Linked DNA regions of Homo sapiens: all the other regions are linked to region 3. Evidence: promoter capture Hi-C in human tissues and cell types (Jung and others, 2019). All regions are on one chromosome and are shown on one strand. The core of a region is centred on a gene start or on the middle of the fragment in contact, and the rest is flanking DNA. Distances in the headings are between cores, read along the strand shown. Region 1 holds the start of GMIP (GEM interacting protein). Region 2 overlaps MAU2 (MAU2 sister chromatid cohesion factor). Region 3 holds the start of TSSK6 (testis specific serine kinase 6).

Region 1 (3,208 bases), core at 645-3,144, 130 kb after region 3:
AAAGACTCCTGTCTGTCCCCACTGTCCTGGCCTCCAGACCCCCCTACCTGTGAGGGGTACAGGACCCTCTGGGGAGGGGCCGCTCCAACAGCTGGCTTCGTTGGTCTGTGCGGGAGGGAGACAGTATTCAGAAGCAAACAGGGCAGGGGCCTGGCCTTCCTAAGGCCCCCTCTGCTTGAGGTCTTCCTCCCTGTTCCCCTACTCCCCACTCACAACAGTGGCTGTAGGGGTCTTGTCAGGTTCTGGGTCTTCTGAGAGTAGAGGGTCTCCAGCCAGCATCTCAAGGGTCCTGGGGGATAAAGGTGTGTCAGGATGCCACCTTACACCCAGTCTGTCCTGCCAAGGGGTGCTGGGGACCTTAGGGTTGTTTGTGGCAAACATCACCTCTGTGGCATCTCTTGTGTCTGGGAGGTCTGAAGAATGGTGTTTTGGGGGAATCAGGTGAGTTTTTTTTAAATAGGACTTGAAAAAGCATCTGAAGGGCCCCAGATAACTTTGAGGTTCATAGAGTGGGATTATAGGGATCGCAAATATTTTAAGGGGTTACAAGGATATGTAGGGGTTCTAGGACCACTTTGGGGATTTCCAGTCTATTTAGGGGGACACTTTTAGGATACCGAGGCATTTTGGAGGGTCCCATCCTAGACTTCTCTGGTTATTAGGTATGTAGGTCCAGATGTTACAGGTTCCAAATGGGACTGCAAGGCACCTAAATGGTTAGGGGCTTGGGGCATCTTGGCAGGATTTGGGGGTGATCCAGGCTCAGACTCACACGTTCCCCAGTGAGATTTCGAGGTTGTCCAGGCTCCGGAAGATGTCACTGTACCTCTTCCTGCCCTCAGGACCTGGGGGGAGTCCTAGGGGAGGGGAGTGTAATACATGGGCTAACCACTGCCTCCCTCCACCCACGGCACCTCAACCAGTCTCATTTGGAGGGGGTGGAAGAGAAAGGGAAGAGTGAGAGAGAGAAAGAGAGGGCTGGGGGGGGCTTGGTTGGGGCCAACTCGAGGCAGGCAGATGGACTCACACACCACCAGAGACCAGAGACAGCTGCTCGGGGAACAGAGACACCCACTCCCTGGGTCTGCCTGCACCCAGAAGCAAACCAACAAAACAGATGCCCCAGATGCAACCAGGCTGTCCCGAGAAGAAAGCCGGTCTGACAATGGAACCACGGGCTAGACAGATGGAAATACACAAGGGACAGCCAGGCAGAGCCTGGGGCAGAAACACACATGGAGAGACTGAAGCCGTGAGGGACATAAAGACCGAATGACACTCCACATACACAACACAGACACAAAGACGGCCGGAAACACCAAGTCGGACCCCGCCACATTTCTACTGCTGCCCCCCTGCCCCCTCTCCTAAGGGGCCTAGACCAGCACTGCCGACTCCCCAGGGCTACAGAGGGGCCCTGTGGGGATCCTACCGCGTTGCCCTCTCCCTCAGCAGTCGTGGCACCCTGCCCCCATCACAAAAATCAGAAGCAGAAGCAGTCACTTCCCCTTCCTGGGCCCCCTCCCCCAGGCGTCTGGGGTGAGGGATCAAAAGGGGGAGGGGGAGTGAAGGGCTGGGGTCCTGAACCCATCCGGGCACAGGGCTCCCCACAATGGAGGATCCCTGGGTCCTTCCCATTCAGGAACTCCTCTCCTGGCTCTCAGGACGGAGCGGGACAAGTGTGTGCCCTCAATGTAGGAAGCAGGGGATGGTCGGGGGAGGCCCCTCCCGGATCCCCGACCCCCTACCCGGCTCTGCTGCGTCCATATCTGGGCCCGGGGATCGCTCTGCAGGGACCGGGATGGGGATGGGGTCGCGCGCCGGCGGGGCCGAGCCCCGATTTCCTGCCGCCGCAGCCGCCGCCGCCGCCTCGGTTCCGCGTCGCCCTGCCCAGCGGAGGCCACGCCCCCGCATCAGACCACGCCCCCGTAGCCCGGAAGCCTTGATAGTGCCCTTCTCTACCTGAGCCGCTTGAAACTGGGTCGGGCCAGGGCCCCCTGAGCGACCACTCGAGGCTGCAGTGCCCCTGACCTGGGCATCCTAAGACTTCATCTGGGCCATAGGTTCCCTCTCAGATCTTTGTGCTACCCCAAATCCCACGGAGCCCCAGCCCCCTCCTCCCTGAATGGTTGCAGAGTCCACCTGTCCCGGGGGGCCTCTCCCAGGAGCTCCCACAACCCGCGACCCTGGTGATCCCCTTGCCCAGGTTGTCTCTCGGAGCCCTGAAACCACCTGGGCCTCGCTGGAGCCATGGCGCCCCCTGGTGGAGGCCTGATATTCTGTCCGATTCCAACCAAAATTCTAATACTCGGGCTGGAGAACCCCTGGCCTGGGGGACGCCCCTTCCGTGACCCTCAAAGCTGGATCAGGCTCAAGGCCCCAATTACAGCACACCAGGGAGCAGCCCTTTTAGGTAGGGAGTGGAGGTTTGTCCAAAAGCACCAGCTCTGGGGTTGCCACAAGCCGCCTGTTATAAAAATGCTCCCACCCCCAGCACAGTGGAATTTTGGGGCTGGAAATAGACTTTAAAGTATGTTTATAACTTTGTGTCCAAAGGCTTTGGCTGTTAAGGAGGCAAGGATTCTCTGACTGGCTCCGTGCTGCCTACTCTGCAGTTCTTGAGTTGTGATGAGTGAGTCCATTGAAAGGAATAACACTATCAACCTAAGAGCCAAGCCAGGTTTCCAGGTCACATCCTGGCTGATGCTCAGCCAGAGCTCCCTGACTGTGACATGAGATGGTAGAGCAGCGCAGGCCCCCAAAGAGCATGACAGAGTCAGTACTTGTTTGTTTTTCTTTTGAGTTGGAGTCTCGCTCTGTTGCCCAGGCTGGAGTGCAGTGGCGTTATCTCGGCTCACTGCAAGCTCCACCTCCTGGGTTCACGCCATTCTCCTGCCTCAGCCTCCCGAGTAACTGGGACTACAGGCACTCGCCACCATGCCTGGCTAATTTTTTGTATTTTTAGTAGAGATGGGGTTTCACTGTGTTAGCCAGGATGGTCTCGATCTCCTGACCTTGTGATGGGCCCGCCTTGGCCTCCCAAAGTGCTGGGATTACAGGCTTGAGCCACCGGACAGAGTCAATACTTGTAATGATGCAGATCATATTCCTCAAGTCTCAGACACCACCCGAGAGAAAGGCATGCTGTTATGTATTATGGGAAAGAAAAAAATATCACACATCCTAAGGCTTCTCTCAGCACCTGAGT
Region 2 (2,500 bases), core at 1-2,500, 170 kb before region 3:
CCAGCCACCCTGCCTGGTGGGTCTCGTCACCCCTAGTTGATAAATGCTGGTGTCCAACGTCAGAGCAGAGCAGACAGGCCTGGGGTCGGGGGTACCTCCCTGACTGGTCAGGTCCCTTGTGCCCAGTCATGCTCAGTTGAAACAGGTGGTAGCTGCTTTTCCCAATTATTATCAGTGTTGTGACAGGGACACTCGGGATGAGGCCAGGATCAGAACTCAGCCCTCACTGACCACCAGCATGTCCTTTGGAGGTCGTGAGTTCTTTCCAGATGCTCAAGTGTCTAATCCATCCAGGGACCTTTGACTAGCACAAACCCAGAGCAGACGTCCCTGGCTGGTATAGTGTGCCCATTAGTCGGTCTGTTTGCTCCCTCGTGAGTGCTGCTGGGGGAGAAGGCATCAGAGCCAAGGCAGCCCAAAGCCGGATAGGCCCTGTGCTTCTCTTATTCCCATATGAGGATGGTTGCTTGGGGCTGTTGGGAGGTGGGGCCCAGCCCAGGTCCCCCTACCCGACTGCCTGAGGCTCTGCTGCATGGTGTCATGATCCAGGGTGGTTTCCACATTTCTACATTTCTAGAACCTGCCATGTCCACAAGCTCTTGAGCACGTAGGGTGAGGGTGAGGGTGAGAGCCAACCCTTCTTGGAGCACTGTGGGAACCAACCTCTGGCTCCAGCTCCGTCTCCCCACCTGGACAGCAAGACACACTCCTTCACTCAGAGGGTGCAGTGGGGACTAGGGGAGATGACGGGGTGGGTGCCTAGCCAGTGTGGCAGGAGACAGGAACGAGGTGGGGGCACGGTGGGCTGGGGGTGGCGCCTCCTCTGGCCTCCCCTGCATGCTTACCCCTGACTCTCACCCATAGTGCTGGACTGCAGCCCCATCCTGTCATCCTTCCAAGTGATCCTGCTGGAGCACATCATCATGTGCCGCCTTGTCACGGGTCACAAGGCCACGGCGCTGCAGGAGGTAAGGCTGGAAGCAGGAGGGGCGGGAAGGCCCAGGAGTTTGTTGGGTCTCAGCAGTGTCAGACAAGAGACTGAATTCGCCAAGTGCATACTGGCAGGCCAGCCCATCCTGCTGTCTCGCTGTCGGCCAGCGTTTTACAGCCCTGCATGGGCACCACTGATCAGAGAATCTCATACAAAAACCAGTGGAGGCCGGGCGCAGTGGCTCACGCCTGTCATCCCAGCAGTTTGGGAGGCCGAGGCGGGTGGATCACTTGAGGCCAGGAGTTTGAGACCAGCCTGGCCAACATGGCGAAACCCCGCCTCTACTAAAAATATAAAAATTAGCCAGGTGTGGTGGCAGACACCTGTAATCCCAGTTACTTGAGAGGCTGAGGCAGGAGAATAGCCTGAACCCAGGAGGCAGAGGTTGCAGTGAGCCGAGATCGCACTACTGCACTCCAACCTGGGCAACAGAGTGAGACTCCATCTCAAAAAAAAAAACCCAAAAAACTAATGGGCCATGGCCCAAAAGCTTGCACACCAAGGGGATAGCGCACATGGTCTCTGGGGATTTGGGGGGTCCTTTGACAGTGATTGTTATACCCCACCCTGCCATTAGGAACACTCTACCCCCAGTACCCACCCTCCTGAGAGGGCATGGGGGCCCTCAGTAGGCTGGAGGTCCTTTACAACCCAGACACCTGTTGGACAGAGTGGAAGAGACGAGTAACAGACAAGGGTCCCTGTCCACGATGGGATCTGGGCTGCCCTTTGCCCTCATGGTGGACGTGTCTGCTGGGGCTTTGTACCCCAGTTTGGTCAGACAGGACATGGGCTCACCCACCAGCTATGGGGTCTCTCCATTGCTGCTCAGACGCCAGGTCCCAGGTTGCAGTCCTGTGATGGCAGTACACTCTCTCCCGGCAGATCTCCCAGGTCTGCCAGCTGTGCCAGCAGTCCCCCCGGCTCTTCTCCAACCATGCAGCACAGCTGCACACATTGCTGGTGAGTAACCCTGTGACAACACCCCGGGAGAATCCAGAATGTTCTCAGTAAGTAAGTACCTAACCAGATCCAGAACATTCCCAGTGAAGGACCCCCTGACAGCACCCTAATCAGAATCCGGAATGTTCCCATAGGTAATCATATAACCTTCCCAGGCACGATCCGGAATGCTCCCAGTGAGCATCTTGTCCCACCCCACATTGGCTTGGGTCTGAAAGGTGGGGACAGTGAGCATATTACCTGCCTTGCAGCTGGCTCGGTAGAGCCATTGTCATACTCCTCCAGGGCAGCCGTGCAGGCCCCGGGCACACCACGTGTCTCTGATCTGAGCCCCCTCCCCAGGGGCCGGCCCTGATGACAACACCACCTTCTTCCAGGGCCTGTACTGTGTCTCTGTCAACTGCATGGACAACGCGGAAGCCCAGTTCACCACGGCCCTGCGGGTAAGGTGCCGGCCCTCCTTGCTGCTCGGGGCGGGCCACACTTCTGAGTAAGGAGTCGGGCGTGGTCTGTGATGAGGACAGCAGTCGCGCTAGGTCAGCTATG
Region 3 (3,170 bases), core at 60-2,559:
TTGCAGGTTCCAACCGGGAACCTGGCACCCACGGCTGGTTGGGAAGGGACGCCCTCCGCGCAGAGGCTGAGAGTTCCGCGCAGGCGCAATGCTTCCGTCCCCTCTGGTCTCGCCCTCTCGGGGCCTGGTCGCAGGGAATCGCGGATGCGCATGCGCCTCCAGCTCCCGGGATCGCGGGGAACGTGGATTCCGAACAAGGGCAACTGCGGACTCCCCCGTGGGAAGAAAGGGAGGGAAGCGGAAGGGAAAAAGCGCATGTGCAGCAGCACGCGGCAGCTTCGCATATTCCCTCGAAGCGCGCCTCTTGCGCGTGCGCCGCCCTGGCCCAGTGCCCTTGGCTGCAGGAATGGCTGGAACCACCCGGCTTCTAGCCGGAGTCCCCGGCGCGCAGCCAGCAGTTGCGCGCTACCTGGCCCGCGGAGGGCCTGGCGGACGGGCTGAACTGCAGCAGCTCGGCGATCAGGGCCTTGCAGCGCTCGGACAGCTCGAGGCCTTCGGGATAGAGCACGCCGCGTTTCTGGCGCCGGGGCAGGCCGGCGATGTCCGAGTCGTCGAAGGGCATGCACCCGGTGACCATGACGTAGAGCACGACGCCCATGCTCCACACATCGTACTTCTTGGGGTCGTAGGGGATGCCCAGGAGCACCTCGGGTGACGCGTAGGCGGCTGAGCCGCAGTAGGTGGTGCTCAGGTCTGGGTAGCCATGGGCCTGGCGGCCGAAGCCGAAGTCGGTGAGCTTGACGCGGCGCTCGTCCGGGCTCAGCAGCACGTTTTCGCACTTGAGGTCGCGGTGCACCAGGTGATGATCGTGCAGGTAGCGCACGGCGCCGGCGATCTGCGCAAAGAGGTCGCGCGCCTGAACTCCGGGGATGCGCCCGTTGCGCTGCACGGCTTGCAGCAGGTCGGTGGCGGCCGCTTCCATCACGATGTACAGTTTCCCGTTGCACACCTCGATGAACTCGAAGACGTGCACGATGTGCGGGTGTCGCACGCCCCGCAGGATGGACAGCTCTCGCGGCAGGAACTTGTTGACGAAGTCCGGGGGCGCTCGCCGCCGGTCCACCACCTTGATGGCCACGGTACCCTTGTACTTCTTGGATGTGGCCACCTTCACCTTGGAGTAGCTGCCCTCTCCAATTGTGCGGCCCAGCTTATAACCGAGTTCGCTCAGAAGTTTGTCTCCCGACATGGTGGCGCCTAGGGCGCACGGGGGGCAGGAGGCGGCTGCTGTCGGGGGGCGGCCGGACTCCAATCTCGGGTCTAAGCCATGGCGCTTGGCACCTACACCCCCGCACCCCCATGTGCCCACTGCCAGACATTGGCCGCTGTTGTGCCTTTTATTGCCCCGTAACAATTTTTGCCTTGTGAAGTGACTGCGGGCGTCACTCCGCCTTAGGGTGGGGGTCCGGGACCCCGCCCCGGGGCCACCCTAGCCTCCCTGCTTTGTGACTCATAATCATCCTGAATGGTCAGTTTCCGATGAGAGGCCACTAGCAAGGGATACCCATCACCACCAGGGAGCAGAATCCGTTCCAGGGATTGGGGTGAGTCCGACTTCGAGCAGCAGCTGCCCCCCAACATCATGTACCCAGCCCGTGACTACGTGGAGCCCTGGGCTTCGCGTAGAGTCCCTAGACGGGGCGAAAACGGGAAAAGGGGCCTTAACTGGGGCACCTGGCTCCTTTGAGAGCTCGGAGTTTCTGACTGGCCTGCGCAACACCCCAGAGGCAAGGTGAACGCGAGGGCCTATAATGCAAGAACCAAGGCGAGTCACGCCCTGTCTGGGCAAAAGAGGAGTAAAGACCCCTCAGCTGCAGCCCGGCAGCGCATTCCTACCCAGGGTCCGCCGCCAGAGCTTTCCCGCGCGGTCGGATAGTTACACTACTGTCCGGGACTTCCTAGCCGTGCCGCGGACCATCTCAAGTGCTTCCGCCACACTCATCATGGCGGTGGCAGTAAGTCACTTCCGCCCGGGACCGGAAGTGTGGGATACTGCGAGTATGGCGGCGTCAAAGGTGAAGCAGGACATGCCTCCGCCGGGGGGCTATGGGCCCATCGACTACAAACGGAACTTGCCGCGTCGAGGACTGTCGGGTCAGTATCACTCTGCGCCGGGGTCTCAGAGTCTGGGCACTCGGGGCTCGGGGGCGGGGTTCCGGGGACACAGGCGGGCCTCAGTTTTCCCGGCGGTGTGACCGGAGGCGGAGCCCGGGGATCCATCATAGCTTCTGTAATAACGCTAAGTGCTGCAGTTTGTTGAGGTCTTTCCCAGCTCCTCTTCCTTCTCGTAACAGCCCAGGAAATCGGTCCCTCTAGTTATTTACGTTTTACAGTGGGTTAAACTGAGTCATAGCCTGTGCTCTGGCCCTCAGCCACCCTTGGATTTCTAAGATGGGGAAACTGAGGCCCAAAGAAGGCCGCGGCTCCCCAAGGCAAAGCTGAGGCCGCAACCCGGAACCTGGAGGGAATTTACAAGATGTTCTATGCAGTGGTTCCCTGCTGGCAGCCCCCGCCTGCATGGTGTCACAGGAATCCATATTCTTTAAATTTTCAATTTTTTTTTTTTGAGACGGAGTTTTGCTCTTGTTGCCCAGGCTGGAGTGCAATGGCGCCATCTCGGCTCACCGCAACCTCCGCCTCCTGGGTTCAAGCGATTCTCTTGCCTCAGCCTCCTGAGTAGCTGGGATTACAGGCATGTGCCACAACGCCTGGCTAACTTTGTGTTTTTAGTAGAGACGGGGTTTCTCCATGTTGGTCAGGGTGGTCTCGAACTCCCAACCTCGGATGATCCGCCCACCTCGGCCTCCCAAAGTGCTGGGATTACAGGCGTGAGCCACCATGCCCGGCGTAAAGTTTTCAAATGTTTAAGTAACACGTTAAATTTTGTTATCGGGCTCAGCACAGAAAATTGAAAAAGAGAACTTAAAAGGCGCCCATACTCAGTCCCCAGGTTAACAGACAAATAGAAACTTTTAAACGTAATCTAAGAGTGAATACATACATTTCTTTTTTTTTTTTTAAGACGGTATGGTTCTGTTGCCTGGGCTGGAGTGATTTCTTGGCAACCTCCGCCTCCTGGGCTCAAGCCATCCTCCCACCCCAGCCTCCTGAGAAGCTGGGATTACAAGCATGCGCCCAGCTTTCTGTATTTTCTATAGAGATGGGATCTC

What was found. Contacts are between HindIII fragments. The study calls those that stand out against the background at their distance.
Region 1: a contact is called between the fragment with the promoter of GMIP here and the fragment with the promoter of TSSK6 in region 3, in 8 of the 25 tissues and cell types used here (IMR-90 fibroblasts, adrenal gland, aorta and 5 more).
Region 2: a fragment that was not itself captured here is called in contact with the fragment with the promoter of TSSK6 in region 3 in 3 of the 25 tissues and cell types used here (heart left ventricle, heart right ventricle and spleen).

The regions. Positions count from the first base shown.
Region 1 is chr19:19,641,763-19,644,970 of GRCh38, forward strand. It overlaps GMIP (GEM interacting protein), which reads right to left and starts at 1,895. Exons shown (of 21, transcript NM_016573.4): 1 at 1,749-1,895; 2 at 773-857; 3 at 214-289; 4 at 48-105. The coding sequence starts at 1,767. RefSeq lists enhancers at 772-1,727, 949-1,108 and a silencer at 1,739-1,988. The HindIII fragment of the contact is 23,421 bases long and covers 1-3,208 here.
Region 2 is chr19:19,342,973-19,345,472 of GRCh38, forward strand. MAU2 (MAU2 sister chromatid cohesion factor) reads left to right here. Exons shown (of 19, transcript NM_015329.4): 10 at 865-968; 11 at 1,877-1,954; 12 at 2,332-2,397. Among named protein-coding and RNA genes, the nearest start is that of MAU2, 23 kb to the left of the region's middle. The HindIII fragment of the contact is 8,189 bases long and covers 1-2,500 here.
Region 3 is chr19:19,514,239-19,517,408 of GRCh38, forward strand. It overlaps TSSK6 (testis specific serine kinase 6), which reads right to left and starts at 1,310. Exons shown (of 1, transcript NM_032037.4): 1 at 1-1,310. The coding sequence starts at 1,189. The coding sequence ends at 368. NDUFA13 (NADH:ubiquinone oxidoreductase subunit A13) reads left to right here and starts at 1,987. Exons shown (of 5, transcript NM_015965.7): 1 at 1,987-2,094. The coding sequence starts at 2,001. RefSeq lists a silencer at 1,556-1,675 and an enhancer at 1,886-2,165. The HindIII fragment of the contact is 21,153 bases long and covers 1-3,170 here.